Regions from separate parts of the Homo sapiens genome. Here regions 1 and 2 are each linked to region 3. Evidence: promoter capture Hi-C in human tissues and cell types (Jung and others, 2019). All regions are on one chromosome and are shown on one strand. The core of a region is centred on a gene start or on the middle of the fragment in contact, and the rest is flanking DNA. Distances in the headings are between cores, read along the strand shown. Region 1 has its middle 5.5 kb from the start of ZNF432. Region 2 holds the start of LOC124904763 (a long non-coding RNA gene). Region 3 holds the start of ZNF845 (zinc finger protein 845).

Region 1 (4,541 bases), core at 1,961-4,460, 1.3 Mb before region 3:
CACAGGGACCTCTGCCTAGGAAAGCCAGGTATTGCCCCAGGTTTCTCCCCATGTGATAGCCTGAGATATGGCCTCATGGGAAGGGAAAGACCTGACTGTCCCCCAGCCCAACACCCATAAAGGGTCTGTGCTGAGGAGGATCAGTAAAAGAGGAAAGCCTCTTTGCAGTTGAGATAAGAGGAAGGCATCTGTCTCCTGCTCATCCCTGGGAATAGAATGTCTCGGTGTAAAACCTGACTGTATGTTCTGTTTACTGAGATAGGAGAAAACCACCTTAGGGCTGCAGGTGAGACATGCTGGCAGCAATACTGCTCTTTATTGCACCGAAATGTTTGTGCTCGTGCACATCAAGGCACAGCAGCTTTCCTTAAACTTATTTATGACACAGAGACCTTTGTTCACATGTTCTCCTGCTGACCCTCTCCCCACTATTACCCTATTGTCCTGCCACATCCCCCTCTCCGAGATGGTAGAGATAATGATCAATAAATACTGAGGGAACTCAGAGACCAGGGCCAGCTGCGCAGGTCCTCCATATGCAGAGCGCCAGTCCCTGGGGCCCCCTTTTCTTTCTCTATACTTTGTCTCTGTCTCTTATTTCTTTTCCTGGTCTCTCGTCCCACCTGACGAGAAACACCCACAGGCTGTGGAGGGGGTGGCCCCCTTCAGGCAGCCAGAGAGAAAGGTCGGCTTACCCACAAAGGGAAGCCCATGTGACTAACAGCAGATCTCTCAGCAGAAACCCTACAAGCCAGAAGAGAGTGGGGGCCAATATTCAACATTCTTAAAGAAAAGAACTTTCATCCTAGAATTTCATATCCAGCCAAACTAAGCTTCCTATATGAAGGAAAAATAAAATTCTTTACAGACAAGCAAATGCTGAGAGATTTTGTCACCACCAGGCCTGCCTTACAAGAGCTCCTGAAGGAAGCACTAAACATGGAAAGGAACGACCGGTACCAGCCACCACAAAAACATGCCAAATTATAAAGACCATAGATGCTAGGAAGAAACCACATCAACTAACGAGCAAAATAACCAGCTAACATCATAATGACAGGATCAAATTCACACATAACAATATTAACCTTAAATGTAAATGGGCTAAATGCTCCAATTAAAAGACACAGACTGGCAAATTGGATAGAGTCAGGACCCATCAGTGTGCTGTATTCAGGAGACCCATCTCACGTGCAGACACACACATATGCTCAAAAAAAAAAAAAGGGATGGAGGAAGATCTACCAAGCAAATGGAAAACAAAAAAAAGCAGGGGTTGCAATCCTAGTCTCTGAGAAAACAGACTTTAAACCAACAAAGATCAAAAGAGACAAAGAAGGCCATTACATAATGGTAAAGGGATCAATTCAACAAGAAGAGCTAACTATCCTAAATATATATGCACCCAATACTGGAGCACCCAGATTCATAAAGCAAGTCCTTAGAGACCTATAAAGAGACTTAGACTCCCACACAATAATAATGGGAGACTTTAACTTGCCACTGTAAACATTAGACAGATCAACGAGACAGAAAGATAACAAGGATATCCAGGAATTGAACTCAGCTCTGCACCAAGTGGACCTAATAGACATCTACCGAACTCTCCACCTCAAATCAACAGAATATACATTTTTCCTAGCACCACATTGCACTTATTCCAAAATTGACCACATAGTTGGAAGTTAAGCACTCCTCAGCAAATGTAAAAGAACAGAACTTATAACAAACTGTCTCTCAGACCACAGTGCAATCAAACTAGAGCTCAGGATTAAGAAACTCACTCAAAACCGCTCAACTACATGGAAACTGAACAACCTGCTCCTGAATGACTACTGGGTACATAACGAAATGAAGGCAGAAATAAAGATGTTCTTTGAAACCAATGAGAACAAAGACACAACATACCAGAATCTCTTGACACAGTTAAAGCAGTGTATAGAGGGAAATTTATAGCACTAAATGCCCACAAGAGAAAGCAGAAAAGATCTAAAATTGACACCCTAACATCACAATTAAAAGAACTGGAGAAGCAAGAGCAAACACATTCAAAAGCTAGCAGAAGGCAAGAAATAACTAAGATCAGAGCAGAACTGACGGAGATACAGACATAAAAAACACTTCAAAAAATCAATGAATCCAGGAGCTGGTTTTTGAAAAGATCAACAAAATTGATAGACTGCTAGCAAAACTAATAAAGAAGAAAAGAGAGAAGAATCAAATAGACACAATAAAAAATGATAAAGGGGATATCACCACCGATCTCCAGAAATACAAACTACCATCAGAGAATACTATAAACACCTCTACGCAAATAAACTAGAAAACCTAGAAGAAATGGATAAATTCCTGGACACATACACCCTCCCAAGACTAAACCAGGAAGAAGTTGAATCCCTGAATAGACCAATAACAGGCTCTGAAATTGAGGCAATAATTAATAGCCTACCAACCAAAAAAAGTCCAGGACCAGACAGATTTACAGCTGAATTCTACCAGAGGTACAAAGAAGAGCTGGTACCATTCCTTCTGAAACTATTCCAATAAATAGAAAAAGAGGGAATCCTCCCTAACTCATTTTATGAGGCCAGCATCATCCTGATACCAAAGGCTGGCAGAGACACAACATAAAAATAGAATTTTAAACCAATATCCCTGATGAACATCGATGCAAAAATCCTCAATAAAATACTGGCAAATCAAATCCAGCAATACATCAAAAAGCTTATCCACCAAGATCAAGTTGGTGTCATCCCTGGGATGCAAGGCTGGTTCAACATACACAAATCAATAAACATAATCCATCACATAAACAGAACAAAAGGCAAAAACCACATGATTATCTCAATAGATGCAAAAAAGGCATTCGACAAAATTCAACAGCACTTCATGCTAAAAACTCTCAATAAACTAGGTATTGATGGGATGTATCTCAAAATAATAAGAGCTACTTATGACAAACCCACAGCCAATATCATACTGAATGGGCAAAAACTGGAAGCATTCCCTTTGAAAACTGGCACAAGACAGGGATGCCCTCTCTCACCACTCCTATTCAACATAGTGTTGGAAGTTCTGGCCAGGACAATCAAGCAGGAGAAAGAAATAAAGGGTATTCAATTAGGAAAAGAGGAAGTCAAATTGTCCCTGTTTGCAGATGACAAGATTGTATATTTAGAAATCCCATCGTCTCAGCCCAAAATCTCCTTAAGCTGATAAGCAACTTCAGCAATGTCTCAGGATACAAAATCAATGTGAAAAATCACAAGCATTCCTATACACCAACAACAGACAAACAGCCAAATCATGAGTGAACTCTCATTCATAATTGTTACAAAGAGAATAAAATACCTAGGAATCCAACTTATAAGGGATGTGAAGGACCTCTTCAAGGAGAACTACAAACCACTGCTCAACGAAATAAAAGAGGACACAAACAAATGGAAGAACATTCCATGCTCATGGATAGGAAGAATCAAGATCGTGAAAATGGCCATACTGCCCAAAGTAATTTATAGATTCAATACCATCCCCATCAAGCTACCAATGACTTTCTTCACAGAATTGGAAAAAACTACTTTAAAGTTCATATGGAACCAAAAAAGAGCCCATATTGCCAAGACAATCCTAAGCCAAAAGAACAAAGCTGGAGGCATCACGCTACCTGACTTCAAACTATACTACAAGGCTACAGTAACCAAAAGAGCACGATACTGGTACCAAAACAGAGATATAGACCAATGGAACAGAACAGAGCCCCCAGAAATAGTACCACACATGTACAACCATCTGATCTTTGACAAACATGACAAAAACAAGAAATGGGGAAAGGATTTCCTATTTAATAAATGGTGCTGGGAAAACTGGCTAGCCATATATAGAAAGCTGAAACTGGATCCCTTCCTTACACCTTATACAAAAATTAATTCAAGATGGATTAAAGACTTAAATGTTAGACCTAAAACCATAAAAACCCTAGAAAAAAACCTAGGCAATACCATTCAGGCCACAGGCATGGGCATGGACTTCATGACTAAAACACCAAAAGCAATGGCAACAAAAGCCAAAATTGACAAATGGGATCTAATTAAACTAAAGAGCTTCTGCACAGTAAAAGAGACTACCATCAGAGTGAACAGGCAACCTACAGAATGGGAGAAAATTTTTACAACCTACCCATCTGACAAAGGGCTAATATCTAGAATCTACAAAGAACTTAAACAAATTTACAAGAAAAAATCAAACAACCCTATCAAAAAGTGGGTGAAGGATATGAACAGACCCTTCTCAAAAGAAGACATTTATGCAGCCAACAGACACATGAAAAAATGCTCATCATCACTGGCCATCAGAGAAATGCAAATCAAAACCACAATGTGTTACAGGAAGGCAGGGACCCCAAACAGAGAGACCAGATGGAGCTGCGGCAAAGGAACATAAATTGTGAAGATTTCACTTTAATATGGACATTTATCAGTTCTCAAATAATACTTTTATAATTTCTTATGCCTGTCTTTACTGTAATATCTTAATCCTGTTAT
Region 2 (4,385 bases), core at 138-2,637, 1.1 Mb before region 3:
TTCTTTCTTTTTTTTTTTTTTTTTGAGACAGAATCTCACTCTGTCACCCAGGCCGGAGTGCAGTGCAGTGGTGTAATCCTGGCTCACTGCAACCTCCGCCTCCTGGGTTCAAGTGATTCTCCTGCCTCAGCCTCCCGAGTAGCTGGGATTACAGGCACCCACTTTCATGCCTAGCTAATTTTTGTGTTTTTAGTAGAGACGGGGTTTCCCCATGTTAGCCAGGCTGGTCTCGAACTCCTGACCTCAGATGATCCACCTGCCTTGGTCTCCCAAAGTGTTGGGATTAGAGGCATGAGCCGCCGTGCCTGGCCTTACTGTACCTTTTCTATATTTAGATATGTTTTGACTTACGAGTACTTACCGTTGTTACAGTTGACTATAGTATTCAGGACATAGCATGCCCTACAGGTTTTTAGCAGTAGGCTGTATTATATATACCAGATGTGTAGTAGGCTATGCTATCTTGGTTTGTGTAAGTTCCCTCTGTAATGAAATGGTCTGAAAATGCGTTTCTCAGAACATGTCCCTGTTATTAAGCGATGCGTGACTGCATTTGCATGTAACCTATGCACATCCTCTGCACCCTCCCATATACTGTAAACATCTGATTACTGGTAATACCTAATTAAATATAAATGCTATGTAAATGCTTGTTATACTGGGTTGTTTTCTTGTATTATTTTTATTGTATTGCTATTTTATATTGGTATATTGCTTCCTTTTGTCTTTTTTAAATTATTTAAGTCTGTAATTGGTTGAATCCATGGATACAGACCCCATGCACTGTATACTCTGTCTGCCCATCAATCTGTTAATAGTCTTCTTTTTTGTTTTGTTTTGTTTTGTTTTTAATAGTAGTCTTTTTGATCAGATCCAATTTTGTGGTACCTCATTGGTTTTGTTTAAGTGATCCTTATTTTACTTAACATGCCCCCCAAGCACATGAGCATTGATGTTGGCAATTTGGATATGTCAGTGAGAATCTGTCACAGGCATCCTTTAAGTGGAGTAAATAGGGTTCAGTACTGTTCCAAGTTTCATTCACTCAGGGTTTTGCAACGTATCCCCTTGGATAAAGGGATTTTACTGTATTCTGTATCCAGCATTGAGCACCGAAGCCGTGTTCTCATTTCTGAAGGCTGAGTTCAGCCTCTGATTCACAAAGAGGTGAGGGGGTGCTGTGCTCTGCATGGGGTTTGGTCAGAGCCAGGTCTGTGCCCTGAAGGGGAGCTTAGTCCAGCCCAGCTCCCCACTGCTGCAGTGTGTGTGTGGGCTTCTCCAGGAGGGGAGCGGGTTCTGAAGAAAGGGGCCAAAAGCTCACTTGTTCTTCCTGTAGGAGTTTATTGTCCCGGCATCAACTCTGATGCAGTGGGCAGCAGAGGACCGTATTTCCACAGGGTGAGGTCTTCCCTGCGTGTGTGGTTGTGGCACAGGAAGAAAGTATGTTGATTCTAAACCCTAAACAGCATATTTTTGACATTCAGGATTGACTTCTAAAGAGTCATGTTGGCCGGGCGCGGGGGCTCATACCTGTAATCCCGGCACTTTGGGAGGCCGAGACGGGCAGATCACGAGGTCAGGAGATCAAGACCATCCTGGCTAACACGGTGAAACCCCGTCTCTACTACGAATACAAAAAATTACCTGGGCGTGTTGGCGGGCACCTGTAGTCCCAGCTACTCAGGAGGCTGAGGCAGGAGAATGGTGTGAACCCGGGAGGCGGAGCTTGCAGTGAGCTGAGATCGGGCCACGGCACTCCAGCCTGGGTGACAGAGTGAGACTCCGTCTCAAAAAAAAACAAAAAAAGTCATGTTATGTGAAGGAGAAGCCCAGAAGAGGAAAGCAGAGGAGTCAGGCATGCCACTTACTCAGGTAAAGTGATATTCTCAGTAGATTGTTCTGTTTCTTATTTCTTCCTGAAATGCCGGGTGCTGGAGTTGAGAATCTTCTCTGAGTCTGAAGCATCCTGCCTGACAGGTTTGCTCACACTCACCCATGCCTTCCTTCAGTCCCTCTCATCTCGCTTAGATTCCATCTCTTGTGACCCAGTGACATGAACTTGGGAAGAGGCTGCACTGGGCGTGATCCTGGGAAGGGCTCACACCCAGACGTGGGTGGAGACGGGGTGAGGGCCCCGTGGTGTCAGTGCTGTTGGGCAGCAGGGATTGTTCAGGGGCCACATCTGGATGCTCTGTCAGCTCTCTGTGGACCAGGATTAGAGAAGCTGCCCACAGAAATCACCTATTAATGTGCACAAGTACCTGGTAAATTCTGCAATAAAAATTCAGGAAATCTTTTCTGCCTTTTTTTTTTTTTTTTGGAGACAAGAGTCTTGCTCTGTCGTCCAGGCTGGCATACAGTGGTGCAATCTTGGCTCACTGCAACCTCTACCTCCCAGGCTCAAGCAGTCCTCCCACCTCAGCCTCTTGAGTAGCTGGGACCACAAATGTGTACCACCACGCCCGGCAATTTTTTGAATTTTTGGTAGAGATGGGGTTTCACCATCTCCACCCACCTCAGCCTCCCAAAGTGTTGGGATTACAGGCGTGAGCCATCACGCCAGGCCTTTTCTGACTTTTAGTAATAGCCATTCTGACTAATGAGATGGTATCTCATTGTGGTTTTGATTTGCATTTCTCTAATGATCAGTGATACTGAGCTTTTTTTCCATATGCTTGTTGGCTACATGTATGTCTACTTTTGAGAGGTGTCTGTTCATGTCCCTTGCCCACTTTTTTCGTTTGTTTGTTTGAGATGGAATTTCGCTGTTGTCGCCCAGGCTGGAGTGCAATGGTGTGATCTCAGTTCACTGCAACCTCTGCCTCCCGGGTTCAAGCAATTCTCCTGCCTCAGCCTCCCGAGTAGCTGGGACTACAGGCCCCTGCCAGCACACTCAGCTAATTGTTGTATTTTCAGTAGAGACGGAGCTTCACCATGGTGGCCAGGCTGGTCTCGGAACTTCTGATGTCAGGTGATCCAACTGCCTCAGCCTCCCAAAGTGCTGGGATTATAGGCATGAGCCACCGCACCTGGCCCTTTGCCCACTTTTTAATGGGGTTTTCTCTTGTAAATTTGCTTAAGTTCCTTGTAGATGCTGGATATTAGACCTTTGTTAGATGCATAGTTCGCAAAAATTTTCTCCCATTCTGTAGGTTGTCTGCTCACTCCGTTGATAGTTTCTTTTGCTGTGCAGAAGCTCTTAAAGTTAATTGGATATCACTTGTCAATTGTTGTTTTTGTTATGATTGCTTTTGGTGTCTTTGTCATGAAATCTTTGCCCATTCCTGTGTCCAGGATGGTATTGCCTAAGTTGTCTTCCAAGGTTTTTATAGTTTGGGGTTTTACACTGAAGTCTTTAATCCATCTTGAGTTGATTTTTGTATATGGTATAAGGAAGGGGTCCAGCTTCAATCTTCTGCATGTGGCTAGCTGGTTATCCAGCACCGTTTATGAAATAGGGAGTCTTTTCCCCATTGCTTGTTTTTGTCAGCTTTGTCAAAGATCAGTTGGTTGTAGATGCACGGCCTTATTTCTGGGCTGACTATTCTGTTCCATTGGTCTTTGTGCCTGTTTTTGTACCAGTACCATGTTGTTTTGGTTACTGTAGCCTTGTGGTATAGTTTGAAGTTGGATAACTTGATGCCTCCAGCTTTGTTCTTTTTGCTCAGGATTGCCTTGGCTATTTAGGCTCTTTTTTGATTGCATATGAATTTTAAAATAGTTTTTTCTAGTTCTGCAAAGAACGTCATTAGGATTAGCTTTCAATCTGTAAATTCTTTGGGCAGTATGGTCATTTTAATTATATCGATTCTTCTTATCCGTGAGCATGGGATGTTTTTCTGTTTGTGTCTTCTCTGATTTCTTTGAGCAGTGGTTTGTAATTCTCACTAGAGAATAAATTTTAATGGACAAAGCAATGGGTTAGTGCAGTAGTATAAGCCTATAATTTGAGCTTCTTGGGAGGCTGAGATGGTAGGATCTCTTGAGTTTGAGACCACCCTGGGCAACATAGTAAGACCTCACATAAATTTTAAAACATATTATATTTATATATTTGAAAATAGGTATTTGTGACTGGAGTTCAAGTTTCTATGTTTTTTTTTTCATGATTTACCTTTTCTTTTTTTTTTTTTTTTTTTTTTTTGAGACGGAGTCTCACTCTTTTGCCTAGGCTGGAGTGCAGTGGTGTGATCTCGGCTCAGTGCAACCTGCATCTCCTGGGTTCAAACAGTTCTCCTACCTCAGCCTCCCGAGTAGCTTGGATTACAGGTGCCCGCCACCACGCCTAGCTAATTTTTGCATTTTTAGCAGAGACGGGGTTTCACCATGTTGGCCAGGCTGGTCTCGAACTCCTCACCTCAGGTGATCCGCCCGCCTCAGCCTCC
Region 3 (4,420 bases), core at 1-2,500:
CAGTACCCGTATCTCGGTAGGAAATTAAATATTTCAAACATCAAATAATTCCAATGTAAATGTATGGATCTTTAAATAATTCTGAGCCTTGAAAGGAATGTGGTCATGCAAGCTGAGTCCAGTGGTATGCAGGCGCAACTTCTAAGAGTTTTCCTGGCCAGACGCGGTGGCTAACGCCTGTAATCCCAACACTTTGGGAGTCCGAAGCAGGTGGATCACTTGACGTCAGGAGTTCGAATCCAGCCTGGCCAACGTTGTGAAACCCAGTCTCTACTAAAAATACAAAACTATTAGCCAGGCTTGGTGGCGCGCGTCTGTAATCCCAGCTAGTTGGCAGGCTGAGGCAAGAGAACTACTTTAACCCGGGAGGTGAAGGTTGCAGTGAGCCGAGATCTCGCCACTGCACTCCAGCCTGGGTGACAGAGAAATACTCTGTCTCAAAAAAGAAAAGAAAAGAAAAGAAAAATCTAAATATAAAAATGAAAGTAATAGATCTCTTCCACAAATGTGCTGGGACAACTAACTGGATATCCACGTGAAAATGAATAATGTTGGATCCCTAACTCACAAAATCAAAAATTTTATTTAAAGAAATTTTAAAAAAGGAGAGAGAGAGAGACGAGGAAGGGAGCGCTGCCGGAGGAGGTGTTACTTTGTCGCCCAGGCTAACTTGGACCCCCCCCCCGGCTCAGCGATCCTCCTGCCACTGCTTCCTGAGTAGCTGGGACCTCAGGCTTTCGCCCCGCGCCCGCATCTCTGCTGTGTTTAAGCAGTAGGTGGTGACCTCACTCCTCCCTGGCCTGAGCACTCCGTCCCGCATCCCAGGGGGAGGCCCTAGGGAAATCTCTGAAGCTGAGGACAGGGTGGACTCTCCTTTCCCAGTGAATGGAGAATAGAAAGGGAGAGGATTTCTATTCTGTTCTGTGGGCCGTCAGCATGAAATCGTATGTTCCACCCAGGCAGGGCTTTGCATTTCACATTCTAGTTTGCATCCCCGTTTCAGACAATTCCAGGGCTTTTGAATCATGCCTCAGCCTTCCTGTCCGGTCTCGCCTCCAAAGCTCGAAAACAAGAGGCGCTGGGAGCGAGGTTGAGAGACGCACGGGTCCCACCCCGGCCCCGCCTTCTGCCAATTCTAAAGGGGAAGGTCTCTCCGCTTCGCGCCCCGCCCCTACCTCGCTCAGGCCCCGCCTACCTCCCCGCGGGTCCCGCCCAGGCCTGGCTTCTGTCCTGCGCGCGCAGATTCGCGCAAACCCGGAAGCGGATCGCATGGAGTGATGGTCCCACCGCAGCGGTGAGTTTTGCTCTGTGTTGTGTTAAGTCTGCGCTTCCCAAGTCCCCGGCGCTTCTGTACCTGGGACGTGGGGTCCCCATAGACCTGGAAATTCTCACCCGTGTTCCTTCACCTAGAGCAAATTTAGACGTCCTCGTCAGAGTCCAGGGGTCGCTTCCTTTTGGGTTTAAAGTCGCCCTGAGGATGGTCCCTTCCCGAATCTTTCTGCTATAGGGCAATGTATACACTTCCCATCGCGTAGTTTCCCTGCTCAAAACCTTTTTCTGACTCCTCCCGACCCGCACTTTTTAAAGTCCTTACCGCGAGGCGGATTCCCGCCCTTGGCGCCTCCCAGTCTTGTCTTAAGGCGCCGTCGCCCCCCACCTCCCTCCTCGTTCCAGGCCCTTATGCTCCCCAGGTCTCCCCACCGCAGTCACCGCTTACCCTGAGCCCGCGTTGGGGAGGTGCCCGGGGCTGTCCTATGACACCGGGTGTTCTTGCCTGCCCTGCACCAGCCCCTGGAAAATGCGCTCCTCCGGGATGCAGGCGTCTTACTCCAAAGCCCTCCTGTGATTGTGTTGGCCAAAGGGATCAGGAGACTGAGAGAGAGAGCAGTAGAAAACCTGAGACAGAGAAAAGAAGAATGAGAAAGACCATAACAGATGGCAAAGTAGAGGATGAGTGAGGGATTTGCCAAGAGAGAGCAAAAATGAAAAAAACAAAACAAAACAAAAAACAGCAGGAGGAGCAGATCCCAGGGAAAAAGAAAACAAGAGCTAGAGAGAGAAGGGGAGAATGAGAGATATGTACAGAATTAGGGAGGGAAGCACAGTAATGAAGAAAGGGGGGCTGGGCGCAGTGGCTCACGCCTGTAATCCTAGCACTTTAGGAGACTGGGGCAGAGGGATTGCTTGAGTCCAGGAGTTCAAGACCGGCCTGGGCAAAATAGTGAGACCCCCCCCCCCATCTCTGTCAAAAAAAAAAAAAATTTAACTGGGCGTGATGGTGCACACCTGTAATCCCAGCTGCTCTGGAGGCTGAGGCAGGAGGATCACTTGAGCCCAGGAGGTCCAGGCTGCAGTGAGCAGAGATCATGCCACTGCACTCCAGCCTGGTCAACAGAGCAGAGCCTGTCTCAAAAGATTAAAAGGGGTGGGGGACTTTGGGTTCAGATGAGTGGGTGAGTTCATTGGATATGATTAGTTGTGATATGTTGACTTCTGTTTATATAATCTAATAACTTAGAACTTGTTTAAATTATACAGATGATATTGAGAATTTTAAAATTCCTATCTATAAGACACATACATTCTGTAAATCTTGGCATTAGAGGTCAGCTTCCACTTGGAATCCCTATTCAGCCAGAGGGTAGTGACTTAATTCAATTGTGAGAGCCTCTCTTCCCTCTTCCCATGGTGAGGTAGGAAATGGGGCAGTGAAGTGGGAGAAAAAAATCACTTTCTGTTATTATGTAATAATTTTAATTTAATTAATTAATTTATAGTTTGAGACAGGGTCTGGCTCTGTCGCCCAGGCTGGGGTGCAGTGGTGTGATCTCCTCTAACTGCAGCCTCGACCTCCTAGGCTCAAGCGATCCTCTTACCTCAGCCTCCTGAGTAGCTGGGACCACAGGCGTGAGCCACCAAGTCCGGCTAGGTTTTGTATTTTTTTTTTGTAGAAATGGGGTTTCACTGTTTCCCAGGCTGGTCTCAATTCTGGCCTCAAAGGATCGTCCTGCCTTGGCCTCCCAAATTACTGGGATTACAGGTGGAATTACAGAGAGGAGCCACCGTGCCTGGCCTACATAGTCGTTTTTTGTTTTTTGTTTTTGTTTTTGTTTTTGTTTTTTTGAGATGGAATCTCACTCTTGTCCAGGATGGAGTGCAATGGCACAATCTCGGCTCGCTGCAATTTCCGCTTCCCAGGTTCAGACTGATTCTACTGCCTCAGCCTCCCAAGTAGCTGGGATTACAGGCATGAGCCACTGCATCCAGCTAATTTTGTGTTTTTAGTAGAGACGGGGTTTCTCCATGTTGGTCAGGCTGGTCTCAAACTCCCAACCTCAGATGATCCACCCGCCTTGGCCCCCCAAATGCTGGGATTACAGGCATGAGCCACCACGCCTGGCCCATAGTACTTTTTAAAAGGGACATCAGGGCGTAGTGGCTCATGCCTGTAATCCCAGCACTTTGGGAGGCGGAGGCAGGTGGATCACAAGGATCACAAGGTCAGGAATTCAAGACCAGCGTGACCAACATGGTGAAATCCCATTGCTCCTAAAAATTCAAAAATTAGTTGGGCATGGTGGCATGCACCTCTAATTCCAGCTACTTAGGAGGCTGAGGCAGGAGAATCACTTGAACCCAGGAGGCGGAGGTTGCAGTGAGCCAAGATTGCGCCACTGCATTCCATCCTGGGCGAGAGCGAGACTCCATCTCAAAAAAAAAAAAAAAAGGAACATCAAAGCTGGGCGTGGTGGCTCATGCCTGTAATCCCAGCACTTTGGGAGCCAATCACCTAAGGTCAGTAGTTTGAGATCATTCTGGCCAACATGGTGAAACCCTGTGTCTAGTAAAAATACTAAAAAAGTAAGCTGGGCATGGTGGCATGCATCTGTAGTTCCAGCTGCTCGGGAGCCTGAGGCATGAGAATCACATGAACTTGGGAGGTAGAGGTTGCAGTGAACCGAAATGGTACCACTGCACTGCAGCCTGGGGGGCAGAGCGAGGCTTCATCTCAAAAAAACAAACACCACCACCAAAAAATGAAAGCAAAAGGCACATCAAAAGTGCTTTTGTTCTCGTTGTGTAACATATTTTCTTTTTTTTCTTTCTGGTTCCTCTTCCTTCCTTTCTTTCTTTCTTTTTTTTTTTTTTTTTTTTGCAGTTTTACTTTGAGATAAATCTTAGTTTTAAATATTTCTTTTTTAATACATAATCACTTCTGAAAGATGCATTTGCAGCATCCTATAACCAGCTCACATTGTTCAGTTATTTTCCCATTGACATCTGAATTTGTTCGATTTTTTAAAAAACAATTTCCAAATAGTTTCTGTTTGAAATTAGTTGCGTCCAGTTCAGATCGAGGTCTGCATGCTTTCTAGTCTTTATTATTTATTGGAAACCTTTAACATCAAAATGTAGTTTA

The links. The method cuts DNA at HindIII sites, captures the fragments that hold promoters and counts their contacts. A contact is called where the count stands out against the background at its distance.
Region 1: a contact is called between a fragment that was not itself captured here and the fragment with the promoter of ZNF845 in region 3, in 1 of the 25 tissues and cell types used here (pancreas).
Region 2: a contact is called between a fragment that was not itself captured here and the fragment with the promoter of ZNF845 in region 3, in 1 of the 25 tissues and cell types used here (hippocampus).

What each region holds. Positions count from the first base shown.
Region 1 is chr19:52,052,024-52,056,564 of GRCh38, forward strand. No RefSeq gene overlaps it. Among named protein-coding and RNA genes, the nearest start is that of ZNF432, 5.5 kb to the left of the region's middle. The HindIII fragment of the contact is 8,170 bases long and covers 1-4,541 here.
Region 2 is chr19:52,275,670-52,280,054 of GRCh38, forward strand. All of the region lies in intron 1 of ZNF766 (zinc finger protein 766), which reads left to right. It overlaps LOC124904763 (a long non-coding RNA gene), which reads right to left and starts at 1,958. Exons shown (of 4, transcript XR_007067331.1): 1 at 1,869-1,958; 2 at 1,645-1,786. The HindIII fragment of the contact is 7,011 bases long and covers 1-4,385 here.
Region 3 is chr19:53,332,499-53,336,918 of GRCh38, forward strand. It overlaps ZNF845 (zinc finger protein 845), which reads left to right and starts at 1,251. Exons shown (of 4, transcript NM_138374.3): 1 at 1,251-1,294. RefSeq lists enhancers at 367-1,231, 1,330-1,379, 1,650-1,739 and a silencer at 1,040-1,259. The HindIII fragment of the contact is 26,552 bases long and covers 1-4,420 here.